Linked DNA regions of Homo sapiens: region 1 is linked to region 2. The links are contacts of gene promoters, found by promoter capture Hi-C in human tissues and cell types (Jung and others, 2019). All regions are on one chromosome and are shown on one strand. Each heading gives the region's core, a stretch centred on a gene start or on the middle of the fragment in contact. The rest is flanking DNA. Distances are from core to core; before and after follow the strand shown.

Region 1 (6,023 bases), core at 2,694-5,193, 150 kb after region 2:
TACTGCTGGGATTTCTGAGATTTCTCTGTTCAAATTCTGCACTGGATCTGTATGAGCAGGGCTGCCCTGGAGAGCAGACAAAGGGACTCACCAGAGGGGAAGCTCTGAGTAGAGCAGAGAGCTGAGGACCTGGAGTCTAGCAAACCCGGGTCCTGGTCTGGCTCTGCCTCTGCCACTCACTGGGAAAGAGCCTCTGAGCCTGCCTTTTCCCATTTGTAGAATAGATCCAAAGGATCCTCTCTTTAGGGTTGTTGCAAGGATCAAAAAAAGTATTTGAATATTTTTGATGTCTCTTAATGTTCTTCCACCAGGTAAACTCCTCTGCATCCTTTGTGAGCCTTTATCTGCTCAAGCCAGGCAGAGTGAGTCAGCCTTTTTCAGAGCTCCCACAGTGCCTTGCCCAGGCCTCTCTCGTAGTACAGACCGCCACACTGCATTACAGCTGAGCAACCCGGGTAGTCGTGTATGAGTGTGCAGGTTGTATACTGTACAATGGTGCCTAGCTGAGAGATGATGGAGACTGAAATCTGGCCCGGACTTTGCCCACCAAGGCCTGGCATGGGTGCACCCATCCAGAAGAAGAGGCTCCTTTATCTGATTGGCACAACAGCTCTGTATGGGCTAGCATGGACTGTGGAGTCAGGCAGATCTGTATTTGAATCCTGACTCTGTGGTTTACTAAGTATGAGTACCCGGGGAAACTACTCACCCTCTCCAAGCTTCAGTCCCCATATTTGTAATGTCGGAATAATACGGGGTGCCAAATAACTATGATGGCACCCTTTTTTACTGTTTTTACACTTCTGTCTCCACTTGTAAGCTCCATGAGGCCTGGGACCATGGTCATGGACTGTGCCCAGCACAGCACTGGGCATGTGAGGGACGCAGGTGGATGGTGAGTGTGTACCCCTGCTGAGCCAGCTCCCACCACGGGTGCTGTGCACTCCCCTGTGCAGGTGCATCCTCAGGGACTGGGAGAGAGACAGGTGAGAGTGGCCACAAAATAATCTGACATCGTGATCCTGTCTTGGGCTCACAATGTGCACCAGGCGCCTAACCCTGGCCTACATTTACAGAGCTCCTGGGCCATTGAGAAGAACTAGGTCCAAGCTTTGTAGGCATGGAGAGAATGGGGATAGAGAATGGTTGGAAAAGGTTCATCTGGGATGGCCTGCTGGAGGGGGCGAGCTTTAAGCTAGATTTTGACTATGAGACAACAGAGCTCAGGAATGTGAGGTGGGGGGACCCTATAGATGGAAGTTCACACCACCTGGCCTGGTCTGAACCTAGATCCTCCCCAGCCATCTGCCCTCTGACAGGGCCTACAACCCCTGTGCCGTGGTCTGGCCTGGTTTACCTCACCAGCCCACAGGGCTCCTGCCTTCGGGTTTAGCCTGATGTCTACTGCTGGGCCTAGAGTCCCAGGAATACACTGATAATCCCCACACCAGCAAACATAGGGACAGCTGAGGTGTGGGCTTGGGAGAGCCATATCTCTAGGACTTCTCCCCGTAAGAAGGGTCTACAGTTGGCCGTGGAAGGCAGGTGGGAGGTAACGGAGGCCTCGGGAGGCCAGGAGTCAGCAAGGCCACCTCTGGTCTCCGAGTCAGGCTGACCACTGGGTGAGGCTGCCAGAGCTCTACCCAGTATGTGTCAGAGAAGCTTCAGGCCGCTGAGGATAGAGCTGGTCCCCAGGTGGAGCTCTGCAGCCAGTCTTTGGGCTTGCTGGGCATTCCAGGTCCTGTGAAGGCCCTCGGGAGTGGTGACCTTCCCCAGGCACAGCTTGGGTTTTGGCTCTGGGTGCCTCTCTGCAAACCCATCTAACCAAGGGCTGCCTGCCTCTTCCCAAGCTAGCGTGTCTGAGGGTGCTACCTCCTGCTCATCTTTTGATTCTCACTCAGACTTCACCTACTCCAGGAAGCCTTCCTTGACCTCTGACCTCCCTGGGACTGGATTGGGCTCCCTCTTGTGTGCTCCCACAGCAACCATCACTCTGAACTGTGATTGCTGGTTACTAATCTGTCTTGAGCACCACCGTATCCCTCCCTGTGCCTGGTAATGAGCCTGACACTTAGTAGTTGCTCAGTAAATTGTGATGGATGGATGATGAGTGAGTAGATGAAGGAAGGTATAGTGAACACAAATACGGGCTCTGGAGCCTTACTGAGTGTGAACTTGATGGATTCCTAAAGCTCTCGGTGTCTCAGTTTCCTAATCCAATAGAATGGGGATGTTAATAGTCCTTATCTAACGGGAAGACTGGTGATCATCAAATGAGCCAAAAGACGTGAAGGGCTGAGAATAATAACCCCTGACACCTAACAAGACCTTGGTGAATGTTGCTTCTTATTAACAATTATAGGAGAAAGGGAAATGCGGGGTCAGGCCTGGTGCAAGGAACATGCTGGCTGGGAAGTGGGTGGGGAGCTCCGCTGGGCCCCAGCTCTGACCCTCTCCCCACTCCATTTCCTGCACAGATGAGCAACAAGCGTTCCAACAGCTTCCGCCAAGCCATCCTGCAGGGCAACCGCAGGCTAAGCAGCAAGGCCCTGCTGGAGGAGAAGGGGCTGAGCCTCTCGCAGCGACTTATCCGCCATGTGGCCTATGAGACCCTGCCCCGGGAAATTGACCGCAAGTGGTACTATGACAGCTACACCTGCTGCCCCCCACCCTGGTTCATGATCACAGTCACGCTGCTGGAGGCAAGGACAAGGGTGGGGAGGGGGTTGCTCTGCCTTGGGGAGTGGCGGGTATGGGGAGAGGAGCCAAGAGGATGACACACAGATCATGGGGGAAGAGGGACATTTCTTTTCCATTGAAGGGCAATGGTTGAGGATCAAATAATAGTTGTATTGCAAATCAGACTCTGTTGCGGTGCATACCAGTGTTGTAACCGTGGACTGCAAAGAGATATTCCAAAGATTATTACTTCAAACAATACTTACTGCAGCCAAATCCCCGTAGGACCACTACCCCCCACCCACCCCAAAACAACAGCAATAAAAACAATGTCATAAGTTCATTGACTTGGGAGATCTAGCCAGGCTAACTCATTAAAGCCAGTTTATTTAGTTCCTCCCTAGGTGGGTAATGTGGACCAGTCATTTGCTCCTTTTTCCCGCCTGAAAATCAGAAATAACCAGACCTGCCTTCCCTCTCCCAGGACACCTTTATTTAAAGTGAGAGAATGGCTACTGGTGCTTTCTGAACACAAAAGCATCACACAAACACATCTGGGAGGGAGTGTGAACAGGTAAATATGGGCTTAACATTTTTAAAGAACATTCTCCCCTTAGGGAATCCTCTGTGCCTATTGTTATGCTAAATTCTACTGCTTATGCAACAGAATCCAAAGGTACCCCTTGCTGCGTTGGTGCCCATGTGTGATAAAACTCAATTCTTTTGGGTCCTCCACTCAACAACCTGTGCAGCCCACCCCAGCTGCAGCTCCTGAATGGATGCTTGGCTTCACTTTGGGATTTTATGATCTCCGCTGTTTCTCTTCCAAAGCCACGGGCCTAATTACCGCCTCTGCATATGTTCTTGTAAAGTTCCTGCCTAATCAAAAGCTTCGCGGCATCCTTCTTTTCTTCTAAGTCAGAATATCTGGTCTGCAGGCCAGCATTCCCCTGTTTGTTGTTATGGCTTCATCCAAGTACATGTTGAAGTTGCGATTTTTCTGAGATATTCTTGGACTCGTTCTTCAAGCGCTTACTGTGCTGGTCTATTTATTAACTTCTGTTTGAGGCCCAATAATAACGAGATGCCTTGGAAGCAGGATTTGCTACCAGGCCACCCTCATGGTATTAGGTGGACAGAACGGCTCCTCAGAGAGCCCAGGAGAATACAGCTACCAGGGGCCTAAGCCATTCCCAGGCTGAGCCCAGAAGATTTTAACCCAACACGAATTATAGCTTCCTTCTCTAAGTGTGTGCCGGGCAGGGGGCTGGCTCTTTGTGTATAGTTTATCACTTTTAAACCTCCTGGCCACTCTGGAAGTCTAGGTATCGGTACCCATTTCCAGATAAAGAAACTGAGGGCCAGAGAATTCAGTTTGCCCAGGTTGATCAAGAGGAGCAATTTTGTGTCCAGATTGGTTCAGATGAACCTCAGCTATGTAAACCCGAACCACCAATCTAGAAGAAACTGGGAAGTGATCAAATAGCTGAAATAACGATCTCGAAGCCCTGGGGCTACAATGCCCAAGGCTTTTGTCTTCTATACAGTTCTGGTAACCTGGCTTTCGGATTTCATAATGAATAGAAAATAGGAGGGACATGGTGTAAAGCAACAAAGGGGTCCACTACCAGCAAGCAATAAGAAACAGCAGCCGACAGCCTGGCAGTGAAGGAAGTGACAAAAGAAAAGTTTAAAGCAGACCTGAATCTTAAAGAAATAAAAGAATTGGCTGAGTGCAGTGGTTCACACCTGTAATGCCAGCACTTTGGGAGGTCAGGGTGGGAGGATCTCTTGAGCCCAGGAATTCAAGATGAGTCTGGACAAAAAAGTGAGACTGTCTCTACAAAATATCAAAAAATTAGCCAGGCATGGTGGTACATGCCTGTGGTCCTAGCTACGTGGGAGGCTGTGGCAAGAGGATCGCTTCAGCCCAGGAGGTCAAGGCTGTAGTGAGCTGTGTCCATGCCACATCACTCCAGCCTGAGTGACAGAGCGAGACCCTGTCTCAAGAAAAAAAAAAAAAAAAAAGGAAAAGAAATACAAGAATTTGGGGGATTGGCCGGACGTGGTGGCTCACACCTGTAATCCCAGCACTTTCAAAGGCCGAGGTGGGCGGATCACTTGAGGTTAGGAATTTAAGACCAGCCTGGCCAACATGGTGAAACCCTGTCTCTACTAAAAATATAAAAATTAGCCAGGCATGGTGGTGGGTGCCTGTAATCCCAGCTACTGGGGAGGCTGAGGCAGGAGAATTGCTTGAACCCGGGAGGCGGAGGTTGCAGTGAGCCAAGATCGTGCCACTGCACTCCAGCCTGGGCGACAGAGCAAGACTCCGTCTCAAAAAAGAAAAAAAGAAAAAAAAAAAAGAATTTAGGACCTTGAGTGTATGAGCAAAAACACTATCCTGGCCGGGCACAGTGGCTCACGCCTGTAATTCCAGCACCTTGGGAGGCCGAGGCGGGTGGGTCATTGAGGTCAGGATTTCAAGACCAGCCTGGGCAACGTGGTAAAACCCCGTCTCTACTAAAAATACAAAAATTAGTCGTGTATCATGGTGGGTGCCTGTAATCCCAGCTACTCAGGAGGCTGAGACATGAGACTTGCCTGAACTCAGGAGGCAGAGGTTGCAGTGAGCCGAGACTGTGCCACTGCACTCCAGCCTGGGTGACAGAACAAGACTCTTATTTCAAAACAAAAACAAACAAAAAATGTCATCTTCCTGGGGTTGCTGGAGAAACAAATCACTCTTATAGCCCAGATCAATACCTGAGATATTCCTTTTTTTTTTTTTTTTTTTAGACAGAGTCTCCCTCTGTCACCCAGGCTGGAATGCCGTGGCGCAATCTTGGCTCACTGCAACCTCCGCCGGCTGGGTTCAAGCAATTCTCCTGCCTCAGCCTCCTGAGTAGCTGGGGTTACAGGTGCCTGCCACCACGCCCGGCTAATTTTCATATTTTTAGTAGAGACGGGGTTTCACCACATTGGTCAGTCTGGTCTCAAACTCCTGACCTTGTGATCTGCCCGCCTCGGCCTCCCAAAGTGCTGGGATTACAGGCGTGAGCCACTGTGCCCAGCCCATACCTGAGATATTCTTAAACAGTTATGCATATGCCCTGATTAAGAACACAGGGACGTAAATGATACATTTTAGAAGGAGTCCCAGAAAAAAAAAAGAGTTAAATACCCTTTTAGAGATTAAACAAGTATGCTTCAGTCACGTTTGCAAAATCAACTTCTGTGGAATGTTGGTGAGAATGTGGAGAAATTGGAGCCCTTGTGCACTGTTGGTGGGAAAGTAAAATGGTGCAGCTGCTATGGAAAACAGTCTGGCGTTGCCTCAAAAA
Region 2 (6,431 bases), core at 218-2,717:
AAAAAAATTAGCCGGGCGTGGTGGCGGACGCCTGTAGTCCCAGCTACTCGGGAGGCTGAGGCAGGAGAATGGCGTGAACCCAGGAGGCGGAGCTTGCAGTGAGCCGAGATTGCGCCACTGCACTCCAGCCTGGGCGACAGAGCGAGACTCCGTCTCAAAACAAAACCAAAACAAAACAAAAAATCTGTGGATTACAACTTTTTAGTGACTTTTTAATATAATAATGATAGCTGAGATCAGTAGAGCACACGCTCTGAGTCTGGCACTGTACCAAATGCTTGACAAGTATTATAGTATTTATTACTCACAACCATCTCAAGAGGAAGGTATTATCATCATTATTTCCATGCTACAGAAGAAGGAACAGTGGCTGAGGGAAGTAAAAATAAAAGCACTTAGTCGAGATCACAGAGCTATTATGTGGAGCCTAGATTCAAACCCAGGAAATTTGCCAGCAACTCTTAACTGCTGCAAGAGACCACATGACTTCTCCTAGGAGAAAGGGAAGTTGGTATTACGCACATTTCATTCCCTTTAAGTGTTTATTGTGTAATATTTAAGATAGAAAAAATGTACATTATGCACAGATAGTGCTTCCTCATTAATTTATGTATTTTATATTTCCCACTGTGTGCCAAGTATTAGGGATGTGATATATATTCGCACGCGTATGTATATATATATATTTGCCATTGTGTACCAAACATTAAGCATGTAACAACAAATTCCTCCAGATGGAGAGGGTCACGAGAAAATTAAGGCAATGTTAGAAAAATCATCTAGAGTTTATTATCGAGTGCCACCTCCGTGTCTAGCATTACGCTGGGTAAGCCTGAGTAAAGAAGAGTGTCCGAAAACCCTGCCATAAAATAAACTACATAGACAGAAAAAAAGTCACTTAGTTTGGTTATAAAGAAAGGAGTCTTGTTCACACAGCGTAAAAACGAATCTTATAATCGTATTTTATAAGCATCAGAGGCAAAAGCAACTAGGGTGACGGGCTTTGGGGAGTGGAAAGCGCCGGATCCTGGGAGCCAGTCGCCCTACTCGATCAAGCATTTTCTGACGGCCCTATCCAATAACGTGGGGACGCAGCTGAAAACCATGCAAGCTGATCGCTGCCCTCCCGGAGTTTATGGTCTGGTGAGAAGATCCCTGCTCTGAGTCACTGCCAAGCTCTAGCTATGTGACTTTGAACAGGGAATTTCTGTCCCTATCTATAAAATAAACGGGGTTAAACCAGGGAATCCGCCATTCAAATTCCTGGCCCAAGTGTCTCCGGGGTCGCGGTGCCCAAAGGAGGGTGGGCGAGGCTCCCTGGGCCTGCGCTGCGGCGGCCTGACAGCGGGAGCGCTGTTCCGGCGCAGAGCGCGTTCGCGTTCCGAAAGCGCGTGTCCCTCGCCGCGTGCCGTCGTCCCCGCCGCCGCCGCCGCCGCCGCCGCCGCCGCCGCCGCCGCCGCCGCCGCCACAGCCCGCTGGGCCGGAGGAGGCGGAGCTGGCGCTGTCCCGGCTCTCTTGCGGGGAAGCAACTGAGGGGGCGGCGCGGCGGGCCCCGGCGGCCGAAGAGGCTGGCAGGTGGCGCCGTGGGGTGGGTGCTCCTGGTGAGAGGAGTCCACTCCGTGCGTGCGGGCGGAGGCCGGCCCCCGAGAGCCGCCGACATGAAGAAAGACGTGCGGATCCTGCTGGTGGGAGAACGTGAGTCCGCACCCTCTGGCCGGCCCCTGAGTCCCTGCCCTCCCTGCCCCTGCAGCCCCTGTCGCCCCTGTCGCCCCTGCAGCCCCAACCTTTGCAGCCCCGGCCCTTCTCGCGCCTCACAGCTCCGCTCGCCTTTCTCCGCGTTCCTAGGCCTTCCAGCCCCTTCACTCTTCTCTTTTGGCTGGCCGCCGGCGGCCCTCACCCTGTCACCTCACCTGGGCCCTCCAGAGATCTCCTTTCCCTGTTCCCCAGCCGTCCTCCCAAGCCATGTCCCTATTAGCCCTAACCGCCCGACCTCATCCCTCCGAAGCTTCTCTCCTCCTTTTCCTCTTCGAACCCTGTCCTTCTGGGCCTCACAGTTTCCCAGGCCGCCTCCTTTCAGACCTTCTTGTCTTCTGGAGATTCCCTTATCACTGCCAGGCAGGTGCTGGAATAAGCAGACTGACCAATAGGGATTGCGTGAACCGGCTCCCGGGGAAGCTGGGGGAGGGGTGCAGAACTATTCGACTTGTGGGCAAGGTCAGGTTTCTGCATTTTTTTGGCACTCGCAGTCTTCACTCTCTCTATGTATTGACATTAAGATATGAGTAGTGGAAAGGGCCGGATCCTTTTTAGCAGTACTTGTACTTTGCATTGGACTAACTCCTCGTACTCGAGATATTTCATCAAAAATTTTTACTCAACTTCGAGTTATGCAAGCGCTCAATGAATTAGAATTATCTGGGGAGGGTCCAATTGTTGTTACCCTAAAGCGTAATCTTTGCCCTCTTTTTAAGCATTATTTATTCCATAGTTACTTCGTAGTTAACTTATTAATAACCACAGGCACACAGACATTTGATATCTCCCCCCACCCAGAAATTTCATACATTTCACCTTTTGAAAATATAATAAAGGAGAGTTCCCTCTGTTCACTGACATGAGGACGCAACAGCGGGGACTTCTTGATTTCACTCTGCAAGTTATGTAACTCAGTTGCTAGGACTAAAATAAGAAAGTGGGCCAGGGATAACTGGATTGTTTGTTTTAAAGAGTTAATACATTCGTTAATAGTCTGCCATTGCTGTTTCGAAGCATTCTGTTTTAAACCATTATTTCATTCTTGGTAACCCCTCAGGGTCACCGTGATGGAATCCCAAGGAAGAAAGTTAACACGTTTTTACCCTCTTCTGTAGTGTTCTTTGAGTTCATTGAAATTTCATCCACCTGCTGTTTGGAGAAATCTTCCTTTAGAATTAGAATTTAGGAGTAAGCTTAGCCAGCCATAGTTTACTTTTTGATTTGCAGTTGTAAATTTTTATTTTTATTTATAACTATATCTTAATCTGTATTTTTCATGGACTTCCTTGACAAGGTTCAGGAAGGTGTTATTTAACATATAATTCATGCTTATGCTTTTGGAGCAAGGTAGGGAAAGTGAGTAGACGACTTGCTTAAAAAACTGATCCTTAAATATATGATGAAATAGTTTGTTGTTGTTGTTGTTTTGAGACAGAGTCTCGCTCTGTCACCGAGGCTGGAGTGCAGTGCCTGGGATTACAGGCACTGTGGCTCATGCCTGTAATCCCAGCACTTTGGGAGGCCAAGGCAGGCAGATCACTTGAGGTCAGGAGTTCGAGACGAGCCTGGCCAACATGGTGAAACCCCGTCTCTACTAAAAATACGAAAATTAGCCGGGTGTGGTGGCACACACCTGTAGTCCCAGCTACTCTGGAGGCTGAAGCAGGAGAATCACTTGAACCCTGGAGGAGGAGGTTGCAGTGAGCTGAGACATGCCAGCCTGGGCAGCAGAGCAAGACTCTGTCTGAAAAAAAACCTTTAATAATGCTCCCACACAGCTGGGTGAGGTGGCTTATACCTGTATTCCAAGCACTCTGGGAGGCTGAGGCAGGAGGATCACTTGAGGCCAAGGAGTTTGAGACCAACCTGGGCAATGTAGTGAGATCCTGTCTCTACAAAAAATTTAAATATTAATGGCTGGGCACAGTGGCTCACTCCTGTAATCCCAGCACTTTGGGAGGCTGAGGCAGGAGGATTGCTTGAACGCAGGAGTTTGAGACCAGCCTGGGCAACATAGTGAGACCCCGCCTCAAAAAAAAAAAACCACAACACTATTAGCTAGGCATGGTGGTGTGCACCTGTAGTCCTAGCTACTGGGGAGGCTGAGATGAGAGAATTGCTTGAACCCAGAAAATCGAGGTTGCAGTGAGCCATGATCACACCACTGCACTTCAGCCCAGGTGACAGAGCAAGACTGTCTCTTAAAGAAAAAATTAATTTTTAATGGCTGGGCACAGTAGCTCATGCCTGTAACCCCAACACTTTGGGAGGCCAAAGTGGGCAGATCACCTGAGGTCAGGAGTTTGAGACCAGGAAACTGACCAACATGACGAAACCCAGTCTCTACTAACAATACAATAATTAGTCAGCTGTGGCAGCACGCACCTGTAATCCCAGCTACTCAGGAGGCTAAGGCAGGAGAATGGCTTTCACCCAGGAGATGGAGGTCGCAGTGAGCTGAGATCACACCACTGCATTCCAACCTGGGGGACAGAGTGAGACTCTGTCTCAAAAAATATATATATATATTGATAATAGTAAACAGGATAGTTTTCATTTTAATGGAGTCTTCTTTTTAAATTAAATTGAGATATATTTGTTTTCTACTAGTTAAGTTCCTTAAGAAAATGGAACTGTTATCTTCTTTTAAAATGAATCTGGCAGATCTTTAACTGGTTTGTCTAACTCTGATTATCATGGCAACCTCTGCCAAACTACTTCAAAATTCCACTGGCTTTGGCCTTGACTTTTGCAATATCTCCCTTAACCAGTCTTTCTGCTCCTGCTTTCCTCCATTTTCCGTGGAGCAGGCAGATTCATTTTTATTTTTTTATTTTTAATTTTTTTACCCTGAAGTATAGATTCAAGCTGTCCTGAATATATACAGATTCATATTTAGAAAATATCTCAGATTCTGCTATGCACCTTAAAAATCATCTAATGAGCCAGGTGTGGTGGCTCATGCCTATTATCTCAGCACTTTGGGAGGCCGAGGCAGGTGGATCACTTGAGGTCAGGAGTTCGAGACCAGCCTGGGCAACATGACGAACCCTCATCTCTACAAAAAATACAAAAAATTAGCTGGGTGAAGTGGCGTGCACCTGCAGTTCCAGCTACTTGAGAGGCTGAGGTGGGAGAATCACCTGAGCCCAGGAGTTCGGGGCTGCTGTGGGTCATGACTGCACCCCTGCACTCCAGCCTGGTTGACAGGGTGAGAATCTGTCTCAGAAAATAGATGTATATCATCCAGTGATTTCTACTTTCACTTAGAATAAAGTCCAAACTTTTTAATGCAGTCCTGTAAGGCCCTCCACAATCTAGCCCTTACTTCCCTTTTATGCTACTCTCTCCTTCATTGCTCTCTCTATAAGAAGGCTCTGACCTGGGCATTATCCCCATAACCATGTATATTTGTACATTTTTTGTCCTGTCTCTTGGGCTAGAAAAGAATCATCATGAAGGCAGGGGATTTGTCTTCCTTCTTGCTGTATCCCCAGTGGCTAGAACAGACCTGGCACAAAAGAGGCACTCAGGTATTTCTTAAAAGAATGAATGAGTTCAAGCTAGTTCAGTTTGTTTAGACTTTCCTTGTTTTCCAAACCACTCCTCTTTGTCATAAAAATTTGATCATTTTTCTGTATTATTATTATTATTATTTTTATTTTATTTTTTTTGAGATGGAGTCTCGCTTTGTCGCCCAGGCTGGAGTGCAGTGGCGCGATCTCGGCTCACTGCAAGCTCCACCTCCCAGGTTCAGGCCAGTCTCCTGCCTCAGTCTCCCGAGTAGCTGGGACTACAGGTGCCCACCACCACGCCCGGCTAATTTTTTTTTTTTTTTTTTTGTATTTTTAGTAGAGATGGGGTTTCACCATGTTAGGCAGGATGGTCTCGATCTCCTGACTTCATGATCTGCCTTCCTCGGCCTCCCAAAGTGCTGGGATTACAGGAGTGAGCCACCGCGCCCGGCCTATTATTATTTTTTTGAGACAGGGTCTTGCTCTGTCGCCCAGGCTGGAGTACAGTGGTGCCATCTTGGCTCACTGTAACCTCAGCCTCCCAAGTAGCTGGGATGACAGGCATGCACCACCATGTCTGGCTAATTTTTGTAAATTTTTTTTTTTTTTTTTTTTTTTTTTAGTAGAGAGGGTTTCACTGTGTTGGCCAGGCTGGTCTGGAACTGCTGACCTCAAGTGATCCACCCACCTCGGCCTCCCAAATACTGGGATTATAGGTGTGAACCACCATGCCTGGCCTGCTCTTTTTTTATTTTTTTGAGGCAGAGTCTCACCCTGTCACCCAGGCTGCAGTGCAGTGGCACAATCTCGGCTCGTTACAGCATCAGCCTCTCAGGTTCAAGCGATTCTCCTGCCTCAGCCTCCCAAGTAACTGGGATTACAGGCGCATACCACCACGCCTGGCTAATTTTTGTATTTTTAGTAGAGACAGGGTTTCACCATGTTGGCCAGGCTGGTTTTGAACTCCTGACCTCAAATGATCCACCCACCTTGGCCTCCTGAAGTGCTGGGATCACAGTCATGCACCACTATGCCTGGCCTAAGATCATTTTAAAACCATATTGCTAATCCCAGCACTTGAGAGGTTAAGGCGGGAGACTTGCTTGACCCCAGGAGTTTGAGATTGGCCTGGGCAACATAGTGAGACCCTGCCTCTACTTT

Evidence for each region. Contacts are between HindIII fragments. The study calls those that stand out against the background at their distance.
Region 1: a fragment that was not itself captured here is called in contact with the fragment with the promoter of RHOT1 in region 2 in 1 of the 25 tissues and cell types used here (dorsolateral prefrontal cortex).

The regions. Positions count from the first base shown.
Region 1 is chr17:32,286,315-32,292,337 of GRCh38, forward strand. RHBDL3 (rhomboid like 3) reads left to right here. Exons shown (of 9, transcript NM_138328.3): 4 at 2,478-2,702. Among named protein-coding and RNA genes, the nearest start is that of RHBDL3, 23 kb to the left of the region's middle. RefSeq lists an enhancer at 3,022-3,669. The HindIII fragment of the contact is 6,058 bases long and covers 915-6,023 here.
Region 2 is chr17:32,141,035-32,147,465 of GRCh38, forward strand. It overlaps RHOT1 (ras homolog family member T1), which reads left to right and starts at 1,468. Exons shown (of 20, transcript NM_001033566.3): 1 at 1,468-1,695. The coding sequence starts at 1,659. It overlaps LOC105371730 (a long non-coding RNA gene), which reads right to left and starts at 2,101. Exons shown (of 2, transcript NR_136413.1): 1 at 1,991-2,101; 2 at 192-1,679. RefSeq lists an enhancer at 799-968 and silencers at 1,429-1,658, 1,689-1,748. The HindIII fragment of the contact is 2,047 bases long and covers 430-2,476 here.